Regions from separate parts of the Homo sapiens genome. Here regions 1 and 2 are each linked to region 3. Evidence: promoter capture Hi-C in 16 types of primary human blood cells and fetal thymus (Javierre and others, 2016). All regions are on one chromosome and are shown on one strand. The core of a region is centred on a gene start or on the middle of the fragment in contact, and the rest is flanking DNA. Distances in the headings are between cores, read along the strand shown. Region 1 holds the start of SOWAHC (sosondowah ankyrin repeat domain family member C). Region 2 holds the start of MTLN (mitoregulin). Region 3 holds the start of GCC2 (GRIP and coiled-coil domain containing 2).

What was found. The method cuts DNA at HindIII sites, captures the fragments that hold promoters and counts their contacts. A CHiCAGO score of 5 or more calls a contact.
Region 1: a contact is called between the fragment with the promoter of SOWAHC here and the fragment with the promoter of GCC2 in region 3, in 5 of 17 cell types (monocytes, non-activated CD4 T cells, fetal thymus and 2 more). The highest score is 7.2, in monocytes.
Region 2: a fragment that was not itself captured here is called in contact with the fragment with the promoter of GCC2 in region 3 in 1 of 17 cell types (fetal thymus); the score reaches 6.2 in fetal thymus.

Annotation. Positions count from the first base shown.
Region 1 is chr2:109,612,670-109,616,219 of GRCh38, reverse strand. It overlaps SOWAHC (sosondowah ankyrin repeat domain family member C), which reads right to left and starts at 1,856. Exons shown (of 1, transcript NM_023016.4): 1 at 1-1,856. The coding sequence starts at 1,730. The coding sequence ends at 153. It overlaps SEPTIN10 (septin 10), which reads left to right and starts at 2,254. Exons shown (of 11, transcript NM_144710.5): 1 at 2,254-2,422. The coding sequence starts at 2,393. It also overlaps a transcript of RANBP2 not described here. RefSeq lists silencers at 1,803-1,972, 2,233-2,482, 2,513-2,602 and an enhancer at 2,455-3,364. The HindIII fragment of the contact is 4,568 bases long and covers 1-3,550 here.
Region 2 is chr2:110,210,428-110,214,324 of GRCh38, reverse strand. MTLN (mitoregulin) reads left to right here and starts at 1,778. Exons shown (of 2, transcript NM_001384134.1): 1 at 1,778-2,110; 2 at 2,703-2,796. The coding sequence starts at 1,800. The coding sequence ends at 1,970. RefSeq lists enhancers at 1,476-1,525, 1,626-1,875. The HindIII fragment of the contact is 4,642 bases long and covers 1-3,897 here.
Region 3 is chr2:108,447,588-108,451,020 of GRCh38, reverse strand. GCC2 (GRIP and coiled-coil domain containing 2) reads right to left here and starts at 1,815. Exons shown (of 23, transcript NM_181453.4): 1 at 1,741-1,815; 2 at 1,332-1,388. The coding sequence starts at 1,746. RefSeq lists enhancers at 1-324, 325-825, 911-1,892, 1,729-1,988, 1,893-2,875. The HindIII fragment of the contact is 5,578 bases long and covers 837-3,433 here.

The DNA.
Region 1 (3,550 bases), core at 607-3,106, 1.2 Mb before region 3:
GCTAGCCTGAAGAGAACTCCGCCCCATCCATTCCGATCCCTCAAGTAAGAATGCATAATTTAGCTTGTCCTTCTGGTCTCACTTCCTTACAACACCTAGTATTCAATTTATTAAGACAAATAAACCTTTGCATTTTCTAAAAGAAGCAATTTTTACCCAAATACATTGGACTTTGGTCTCAATGTGAAGGGCGAGTGGCCTTTAACAGGTCGTTCCTCCCCCACTCCCTCCTCCCCCCTGCCCTCCAGCGGCTGCTCTGGGTCCCTGAAAGAGGGTGTGGTGTGGACGATCTGGGTTCTGAATCGGATTTTGTTGAGTCTGGGTTTTATACGTCCACTAGAGCTGCCCGAGGCTTTGCGCCCTGGATCCTTGGCTTTGCCTCCGACCCACCCCTCAGCCGAGTGGTGATGGTGGTGATGGTCCCCTCCATCTTCTAGGGCGTGTGAGAGTTTGTAGGTGATGAGATGCGAGGGAAGCACCTTTGAAAGCCTCCAGCGCCCGCCGCCGCTACCCGCGGCGCTTTCCCCGTCACCCTCGTCCAGGGCTCCCACCAGGTTCTTGATCTCCTCGGCGATGCTCCGACTCAGGTACTGGGAGGCCTTTTTCCCACTGTAGTCCCTGATGTCCACATCGGCGTCGTAGGCCCCCACCAGCAGCTTCACCACCTCCACGTGGCCGTGCATGGCTGCCAAGTGCAGGGCGGTGTAACCCCCGCTCGTCCTGGCGTCGATGTTCACCGGCAGCTGGTGTTTGTTGGCGAAGTTGACTAGCATGGCCAGAAGCTCCTGCCTGCCGTGCTTGGCGGCCCAGTGCAGGCAAGTGAAGCCGGTAATGAAGTCCCGCTTGACCAGCAGGCCGGGCTCGCAGGTGAGCAAGCCCTCCAGGCTGTCCCACTTGCCATCGGAGGCAGAGAGCATCCACGCGTGCTCCAGGGGGTCCAGCGTCACGGAGCCTCCGCCGCTGCTCTCCTCCTCCGCGGACGACGAGGCCACCGATGCGCTGTCTGAGTCGCCCCCGCCTCTGCCGCGTCCTCCCCCGGAGGAGCTGCCCGGGCTGCTGCCCCCGGGACACACGCTCCTCTTCAGCTGCGGGGAGCTGCCCATCACCAGGTCACGGAGGTTCTGGCGGGCCGGCCTCTGTGCGGTAGCCCCCACAAGGGAGCTGCCCCTGTCCGCCTCCTCGCAGCCATGTGGCGGGAGCTCCAGGTCCTCGCTGGGCCCCGGGGCTGGAGTCCGCGGTAGGGGCTGCACGTCGCGCCGCGAGTTCTTCCTGCGAGCCCCGGCGCTCAGGGGCGGCCAGTGCGCGGGGGCGGGGGGCTCTCCCTCGCCCAGCTCGCGGCCCTGTCCAGGGAGCGACTCCGGGGCCGCCGCGTCGGGGAGCCGATCGCGCGCCTCGGGCCCGGCAGGGCCGTCGGGGGCCTCGGGCTCGGCGGTCACCTGGATTCGCGGCGGGTCCCCGGAGGGCTCGGACGGCCCTTCACAGAACCTCTTCTTGAGGTGCACGTACTTGGCGCCGTCGGCGGGATCGACGCGCACAGTGGCCACGGCGTTCACCAGCTCCTTGAAGTGCGCGCGGGCGCGGGCGCGCTGCTCCGGTTCGCCGCCTAGGGCGCCCCTGAAGTGCTGCACCAGCTCGGCGTGCAGGGCCCGGCCCCCGCGCTCCGCCAGGAAGCGCAGCACCGCCTCGGGGCCCAGCGCCGCCTCGGGGCCCCACTCTGCCGGCCCCTCCATCCTCGACCGCGCTGCTCCCCCGCCAGCGGGCGGCTCAGCGCGGTCCCATAGCGACGGGCTCCCAGCGGCCGGCTCCCGACGGCGGCGGAGTCTGGCGGGCTCAGCGGGCTGCCAGCCTACGCGTCTGAGGCCAGAGGACTCGGCCACCGCCTCACTGGGCCGCGCCCGGGCGGACACGCCCCCCGCACCCCCGCCCCGCGCCCACGCCACCAGGCCACGCCCACTTCCGCTCCCCGCTGTCTCGGCCACACCTACCTAGGGCGGCCTCGCCTCAAGGCCCGCCCACTTCCGGCCTCGCGAGGGCCGCAATCACTGCTCCGCAGTTCCCGCCTGCATTCCTCGCGCCGTCTTCCTGGAGTCCCAGCTCTCCTTCAGCCCGCCCCAACGCTGACGCTCAGTCCTCAGGCGTCGAGGGTAGCTCCTGTGAGGGGCTCGCTTGGCGCAGGCAAAACGCTCAGCGCGCACCACAGGGCGTCCGCCCCAACCCCGCCCCCGGAGGCCTCCAGCTCGGCCCCGCCCCTGTCCCTTCCCCGTCGCGGAGGCAGCCTAGCCTCGCGCCCCGCCCGTTGCTTCTGCCCTCCGGCCTTCCCGCCGCCGTCGCCGGGACCAGCCGCTCGGGGCCGGGCTGATACAGCCGCTTCACCGTGCCCCTGCCCGCGACCATGGCCTCCTCCGAGGTGGCGCGGCACCTGGTGAGTCCCGCCGACGCCGGGGCCCCAGCCCCGCGCTCCCCGGCCCCCGCGGGACTTCCCGCCCTCGACCCACCGGCCCCCTGGTCCGGCCCGGGATTGTGACCCGCGCCCCCTCCGGCCCCGCCCGCCCAGTGCTCCCCGGCTTCCGCGGCGGCCGGGCGCCTGGGGCGGGAGAGGAGCCTCTGCGGAGCCTGGGCGCGGCCGGACCCCGGTTCGCGGGGCGCGGCGCCAGCGTCGGGACGGTGGGAGAGTTCTTGAACGACTTCCCGGTCTTTGCCAAAAGTTACATCCACAGCGGTGTTTGTGGGTCTCTTACGGCTATAACGGAGTTGAAGGCGCAGTGCGGACTGATTGAATAGCGGTCATCTTTTGCAGCCGTGAGCACTTCCGAGCCTCCCTGCCGCCGGGAGAAAGCCCGGCTCCCCTGGCTTTTCAAAAGCTCTCCCGTTTTATCCGATGGTGTGGTCGTCCAAGTTTTCCTCCATTGGGATTTTAAACCGTTTTTTTCCCGCCTTGACTCTTTTGTACTCTAAAAGAACGCGTTTGTTCACTGTTTTGAACCTTTCCAGTTACTTTTGTAGATTTATCTCGCTTGTTAGTAAGCCAGCGGTTTTCCAAGTGTGGTTACAACTATTTTCGTTAATAGTACCAAGGTCGTGTACATCGAGTTTTCCAAAGGCTACATGGTATGGAGTGATCTCACCGCCGTTTGGAGGCCCGATGCCTGTGTATTCTTAAAAACAAATTCTCCCTTTTAATTTTTGATAGTAAACATTGGTGGTTTTCATCTGTGTAAACAAAAGCTCTTTGGAGGCTGGAGACCAAAAAGTTTGAGAACCACTCTACTAAGCAACCTCCTACATGAGAAGTTTAAATTGTAGAAACAGTTCAGATTGCAGGCTGAGAGATTAGAGGATCCGTCCAAAGTGACACCGTTGGTTTGTTTTATAGAACCTGGACAAAGATTTTTCTCCCTGATTCAGCCCAGGTCTCTTTTCATTCTATCGCGTATTTTTTAAAAATCTCAAATTTTCTGTCTGGACCCCCTTGTCTCAGTTGCTGTGTTTGTGTGCATGTGTGAGTGAGGGAAAATTGAGGGGTCCTGGTGAGGAAAATGTGTTTTATAAA
Region 2 (3,897 bases), core at 523-3,022, 1.8 Mb before region 3:
GAGTTAAGGTGGGAAAAACACTCTGTTTTGTCCCATATCTTACACCATGTAACAGATTACCACAAATGTAGTCACTTAAAACAATACACATTTATTATCTCACATTTTCCATGGATCGGGAATCCAAGCACAATTAAGCTGGGTCCTCTGTTATAATCTCACAAGACTGCAATCAATGTGTAAGGCTGTGTTTTCATCTGGAGGCTCAAATGGGGAAGAATCTGCTTCCAAGCTCATTCAGGTTGTGGGCAGAGTTCATTTCCTTGTGGTTTTGGGACTGAGGGTTCCAGATTTTTGCTGGCTGTTGGCTGGAGGCTTTTCCTAGAGGCCACTGCAGTTCTTTGTTCTGTGAGCTTCTCCAGCACGTCCACTTCATCAAGCCACAGGAGAGTCTTTAACTTGCTAAAAAATGTTATATACACAGTGACATGTTTTGGCTGTGTGCCCACCCAAATCTTGAATTGTAGCTCCCATAATTCCCACATGTCATGGGAGGGACCCAGTGGGAGGTAATTGAATCATGAGGGTGGGTCTTTCCCGTGCTGTTCTCGTGGTAGTGAATATGACCCATGAGATCTGATGGTTTTATAAAGGGAAGTTCCCCTGCACAGGCTCTCTTGCCTGCTGCCATGTAAGATGTGCCTTTGCTCCTCCTTTGTCTTCTGCCATGATTGTGAGGCCTCCCCAGCCATGTGGAACTGTGAGTCAATTAAACTTCTTTCCTTTATAAATTACTCAGTCTCATGTATGTCTTTATGAGCAGTGTGAGAACAGATTAATATACGTAGTAATCACAGGAGTGACATCCTCATCCCCTTTGCTTTATTATATTAGTTAGAAGCAAGTCACAGGTCACACCCACACTCAAGGGGAGTGGATTACACAAAGGCCTGAACACTAGGAGGTGGAAGTCATGGTGGGGGGGTGTCAAAATGACTTTCATCATTAGAAATGTGTTTGTTTGTTTCCTATCCCAACAATTTTGACCCCACGTTAGTTCTGGTACAGCATGACCCCCAGACCTGGGTTGTCCAATATGGTAGCCACTGGTCCCATATATGGCTAGTGTGACTGAAGAACTGAGTTTATAATTTTTAAAAAATTTTAATGAATTTAAATTTAAATTGGTACTCCATTCGGTTATTGGAAAAATGTTTGTGTTTTTAGAACAGCTTGGGTATATAAATCTACTTTTTCAACTGTACATTTTATGAAATCTAGACACTGATAGGTATCTCCATTGAAAATTCAGTGTTCAAATTGAGATGTGCCTTTCGCTGTAAAATACAGACCAGTTTTCAAAGACTTGGTATGAAAAAAATAAAGCATCTCCTTAATAATTTAAAAACGAGTTACATGTTGAAATGATAACATCCCCTATATGTTGGGATAAGTAAATATATTATTAAAAACAATTCCATGTTTTTGTTTTTATTTTTTAAAAAACAGGTTACCAGAAAATTTAAAGTTACGCCAGTCACTCCCATTCTATTGCTGAGAGAAAATACAGAGCGGTGAAGAGCTTACAGTCGGGTGAGCAAGATACGCCCCCAATGTTAGCTAATGATGTAAGGCATCAACAAGAAATGTGGGGGTTCAGGAAAGTGGAAGGTGGGGTCGTCCAAAGCCTGGGAAAGTCTTCAGTTGAAGGCGAGACAGATGGGACTATTAGTGAGTTTCGAGAGATCCAACGCCTCGCCGCCTTCGCTTCATTTTTGTCTCACGCCCCACCCTTGAACGCGCGGCGCCTTTTGACCCCGCCGCCGCGCCGTAGACCGCGCTGCACGCCGGCGGCAGCCATGGCGGATGTGTCAGAGAGGACACTGCAGTTGTCCGTGCTAGTAGCCTTCGCTTCTGGAGTACTCCTGGGCTGGCAGGCGAACCGACTGCGGAGGCGCTACTTGGACTGGAGGAAAAGGAGGCTGCAGGACAAGCTGGCGGCGACGCAGAAGAAGCTGGACCTGGCCTGAGACTCTGCGCCTTCCGCCCCATTCTGTCCCCCTCATGGCCACCTTGCCATGTCCGCGCCGGAGCCCCGGTCCGCCGGCGCCCAGAACCAGGCTTGCCACACAGTCCCCGCCTGCCATGGCCGGCTCTTCCTGGAGTGTTGGTGAGCAGTACACATAGTGACATTGCAAAGGGAGACTTTGGGGTCGGGCGGATATCTTAGGATCAACTCTGGCTAGGTCGCAGAAGACAGGACTTGTTCCCACAGACACCAGAAGGTGGAAGTTTTGTCTTCCCTGATAACTTGCTCTTCGGTATCTTGGTTTGGTTCACTGGGTGTTTAATGAGAATGTCTTACCAACGTGCTATGTCGTCGTTCATCCTGACAACATTAAACATCAGTATAGAAAATACTGGAAAGAACAAAAGAAAAAAAGAACCAGGGAGGTGATCTTGCCACCCCCAATTCTTTTCAGTAACATCCTTGTTAGCACATCTTCGCCTTGGCGATTGTAAACTCCAAACTGAATTCTTAGGTTGTTGGCAGCCTGGTAAAGTGGAAAGAGCAGTGGCCTGGAAGTCAGGAACCTTGCATCCAGTCTTAGCTCTTCAGAAGAGCTGTGCATGATCAATTTTCAGGACCTCAGTTTTCTTGTCGTAAACCAGATCTTATGGTTCATGGTTTAATACCACAGTACGGCTTGAAGTTTCAGATTGTGTATTTCTAATTTTTTTCTCTTTTCTGTTTCTAACAGCTTGTTGAAGATGCATATAGACTACCGGAAAGAAATGACTTCTTCTTGCACTTTATGAATCAATTTTATTTTTAAAATAAAAAAATTAAACATCTTTGACCCTTTTATTTTTTCATAAGGGGAAGTATCATGTTTTTCTTGCACCTTACTGCATCAAGAGATCTGCATTTTCAAAACTGACTTACTAGTGTTTTTGAGCAGATGTGTTATGTAACTCGTGCCCCTTCTTTGGTACAGGCACAAAGCAGACTTGGCCGTGGGACCATTATGGGTTCTTTTACCGAACTTTTTGGAAAGCAGGGGGCTGTGTAAACATAACTGAGGTAAGGGTGCTATATGTAAGACCTTTGAACTTCCAAGAGTAACAGTGTATTCCTTGGCCCTGCTCAGGCCTATAATCCCAGCACTTTAGGAGGTTGAGGTGGGAGGACCACTTGAGCCCAGGAGTTGGAGACCAGCCAGGGCAACATGGGGAGACCCAGTCTCTACAAATAACTTACAAATTAGCTGGCCGTGGTGGCACACACCTGTGAGTCCAGCTAATTTGTAAACCAGAGGCTGAGGCAGGAGGATCACCTGAGCCTAGGAGGTTAAGGTTGCAGTGAGCTGTGATCTCACCACTGCACTCCAGCCTGGATGACAGAGCGAGACCCTGTCTCAACCCAAAACGAAACAGTGTGTTCCAAGTACAGAGTATAAGTTTTTTCTTTTTTCTTTTTTATTTGAGACAGAATTTCACTCTTGTTGTCCAGGCTGGAGTGCAATGGCACAATCTCGGCTCACTGCAACCTCTGCCTCCTCGGTTCAGGCAATTCTACTGTCTCAGCCTCCCAAGTAGCTGGGACTACAGGCATGTGCCACTATGCCTGGCTAATTTTTGTATTTTTAGTAGAGATGGGGTTTCATCATGCTGGTCAGGCTGGTCTCGAACTCCTGACCTCAGGTGATCCACCGGCCTTGGCCTCTGAAAGTGCTGGGATTACAGGCATGAGCCACTGTGCATGGCCAGTGTATAAGTTTTTATTGGCAAAAATCTCTTTTACGTGTCATTATGGAATACACATGAAGGAGAAACCCTCCTGAACAGAGCTTAGTGATAAATCCTACCTATATCTAAAAATCAAGAGTGAGTGCCTGGTTCCTTTGATTTGCAAGGAGTGTTTCTAGAACACCACCCTTGCTCATTCCTACAAAG
Region 3 (3,433 bases), core at 566-3,065:
ATGTGGTCATGTTACCAACTTGTTATAACTCATGTTTCTAGTATACCACAAAAAAGAAACAATGTCTGCTAGAAAACAAAAACATTCTACAGAATAAATCTTTATGCCAACCGCATACTTTGTTCCACATTTTTTTTTTGAGACAGAGTCTCGCTCTATTGCCCAGGCCGGAGTGCATGACACGATCTTGGCTCACTTGTAACCTCTGCCTCCCAAGTTCAAGCAATTCTCCTGTCTCAGCCTCCCAAATAGCTGGGATCATAGGCGCCCGCTACCACGTCCGGCTAATTTTTGTATTTTTAGTAGAGACGGGGTTTCACCATGTTGGCCAGGCTGGTCTCAAACTCCTGACCGCAGGTGATCTGCCCGCCTCGGCCTCCCAAAGTGTTGGGATTACAGGCGTGACCCACCGCGCCCGGCCACATTTTTTAAAATCAGCAAATGCAACGTCAATTCTGTAATTGCTATGCAACTACTAAAAATTAGTTATGCAACTACTATGAAACGTAAAAACCAGGCCATATCCTCTTATAGCTAATGTTACAGGTTGACATTGCTAGCTTTTGATTTAATTGTAAAATCAGTAGGTTGGAGCTAATGCTACTTAAAATTCCTTGGAGCTGTAAAATTATTTCATTCTATTCAAGGCTGCAAGTCTTTGGTCACAAGAAAATTTACGCATAATTACAGCAGCAAGATGAACCGGGTAACATTCAGGCTTTAATTAAAAAATTGAGCTTTACCACTTGAGAAAATTGCTTAAGCCTGTGGTCTCAGGTTTCTCATCTGTAAAAGGAGGGTAACAACAGTACCTATCTCATGGTTATCATGAAGCTTAAACGAAGGAACTGAGTGGTTAGGCAAGCGCCAGAAATTTAGCATGCACACAATAAACCTTAGCAATAAACCACTATCATTTAGAATGATTGAATGTTAAACATTGTACAGGGCCATAAAACTGGACTAATTAAACTCTTTGGCAATGTAGAAACTGGAGCCCACAGATCAGAATCCCTTGATTCCTACCCTATGTCACTGCTCCTTCCACTACACCACTATATAAACCTTCTTAGACTGCTTTATGTTCGAAAAATAGCAGGATCTCCCAGCAGTGCTAACCAGGAGCAGGAAGCAAACAAAAAGTCTTTCTATATCGGGGTGGGCGGGGGAGAAACAGGAAATGGGCGATTGCGCACACTAAAATTGAGATCCCTTGGAGCAAGGCTATTAAAAAAAAAAAAATCAGCGCCCCCCCCTTCCCCATGCCAAAGTTTTCCAATTCATCACCCTTCCACTCTTCAGGAAGCCCGCTATTCAAGTATTCTCTTCACCTTAGATTTCCCGGTCCCAGGGGTAGCTGGTGAAGCCACCCCATCTTGAACAAGATCCTGCAAAACAAAATCAAACCCAGGTGTCAGAAGAACTCTTTTCCTAATTCCACACGGAACGCGTAGAACCCTTACAGGGAAAAACCTTCTATGGAATCAAGTGGTGGAAAGCCTCGTGAGACAGAGAATGAGGGCGGACGGAGGCGGTCGCTGTGGCAATTCGTACACAAACGGGCTCTACGGGGCAGGTAACCCCCAGGGATAGAGTTTACGAAAGATGGGGAGGCGACAGCAGCGCGGGCTTCGGGACACCAAGAGGGAGACTACCGCGCCCTCCCATCGGGCCCACTCCCACATCCCAAATCGCGGCGCGGAAGGCTTGATGGGAGGCAGTGGGCCCGACCTGAGTTACCTCCATCTCCGCCAGCCCGCCGCCGGCCCGCAACCAGCCGCCGCCACCGCTGCACTTCTGTTTGCGCCAGCCTCTGACGTAGGCTCTACTGCAGGTCAAAGGTCGCGCTCTCCGGGCGGCCCGCCCCCCACGTCTCCATAGCTACAGCTCGGCAGCACTTCCGCTTCCGTGTCTGCGTCCGGGAGAAGGTTCCCCGTACGGCGCTAAGGGCGGAGTCCGTCTAGACGTTCTACCTGGGGCTCGACCCCTGGGCCTGCAGGTCACGGAGTAGGTGTGGGTCCCGCCACTGCCGGTTATTGGCATGGGAAGGCGGGCCGATTACCCCTTGGGGCCTCGGGCCTCGGTTTCCACGTCTGTAAAATCTTGTGAGAGTGAGGAACATTGGATTGCAGGACAGGTCTCTCAGTCCTCCAAAGGTGTCCGCTAGCCTGCGAGTGCCTGCGGGACCCACAGCTGGTTCCGGGGGGCTCCTTAGGCATTTGTGGCCAGCATGGTGCCCGGGAGCTCCGTGACTCACAGGTCAGGGATGCGGTAGAGGGCTTCCCTGAGGAGGCATTTCTTGACTCTGGAGGCTGTGAGGAGGTCCCTGGACAGCTCTGCCCTGCAGCCGCCCGGTACTGATGGTGATGTGGTGGAGGCAAGATAGTCGGCCAGGGAACTGGGCAGCCGTGGGAGGAGACTCTGTAGAGTAGGGGGCCCGAGGCCACCCTTTCCCGAAGGGCACGCCAGAGAATCTGTGGTCGAATCCCAGAGCTGCTGCTGTGTCCTGATTGGCGGTCCAGTGCTCTGAGAGCCTTTCTGTTAACTGCTGAAGTGGTTTGCTGCGCTTTCACCTTCCCATTAATGTTTTCCATACACTCCCATAACTAAGGTAACCTGAAGATAACCTAGTTTCCTGTAGTTTAAATGGTCAAAAGGTTGAAGAGGCAGCACACAGTATGTATCGAGTAAATGGTAGCTGATTATTACTAGGTAAAAGAAGTGTTATAAACGAGAAAGAACAGCTATTGTGGACATCTACTCTTTGTCTTTGACAGTGTGTATCACCTATGGTGTTTGTAGGATTGGTTCAGGGGTGGTGTGTGACCTAAGATGTACAGTCTCCACGTACAGTAACACACGTGTGTGTGTACACGTGTGTGTGTACACGTGTGTGTGTGCACGTGTGTGTGTGCACGTGTGCGCGCACGTGTGTGTGCACGTGTGTGTACACACATATATGCACACACATGTATACACACACACACACACAATCCCCAAGTATACATTGTTATTAATGGTCCAGATTAATGCCATTCAAAGTAGTTCCCCAAGTTAAGAGCAACTTACGGTAGACTCCTATTTCAATTAATAACTTGAAAAAATCACTTGCAATAAAATAGCAGGTTAACTAGATACTACACACATTCCAATCCTGTAAAAGTTTCTCAGAGAAACACTGTTAGATATAGTTACATTCCAGGAGTTTGGCTACATCAATAGCTACAGAAGAGTTGATGTTCTCACAGTAGAACTCTCTTTTTCTCATACTTGAAATAAAAAAGAACCTTTCTTTTCTTCCTTTGATCTTTCTTCCCTCGCCAGCCCTCCATTGCACTTGGCTGGGTAACAGGGTCCATGAGTTGCAGCTACAGGTAGGGCAGCGTCTCCTGGGAATCCCCAGGGAGATGAGGGTCAGCACACCCCTAAGCTC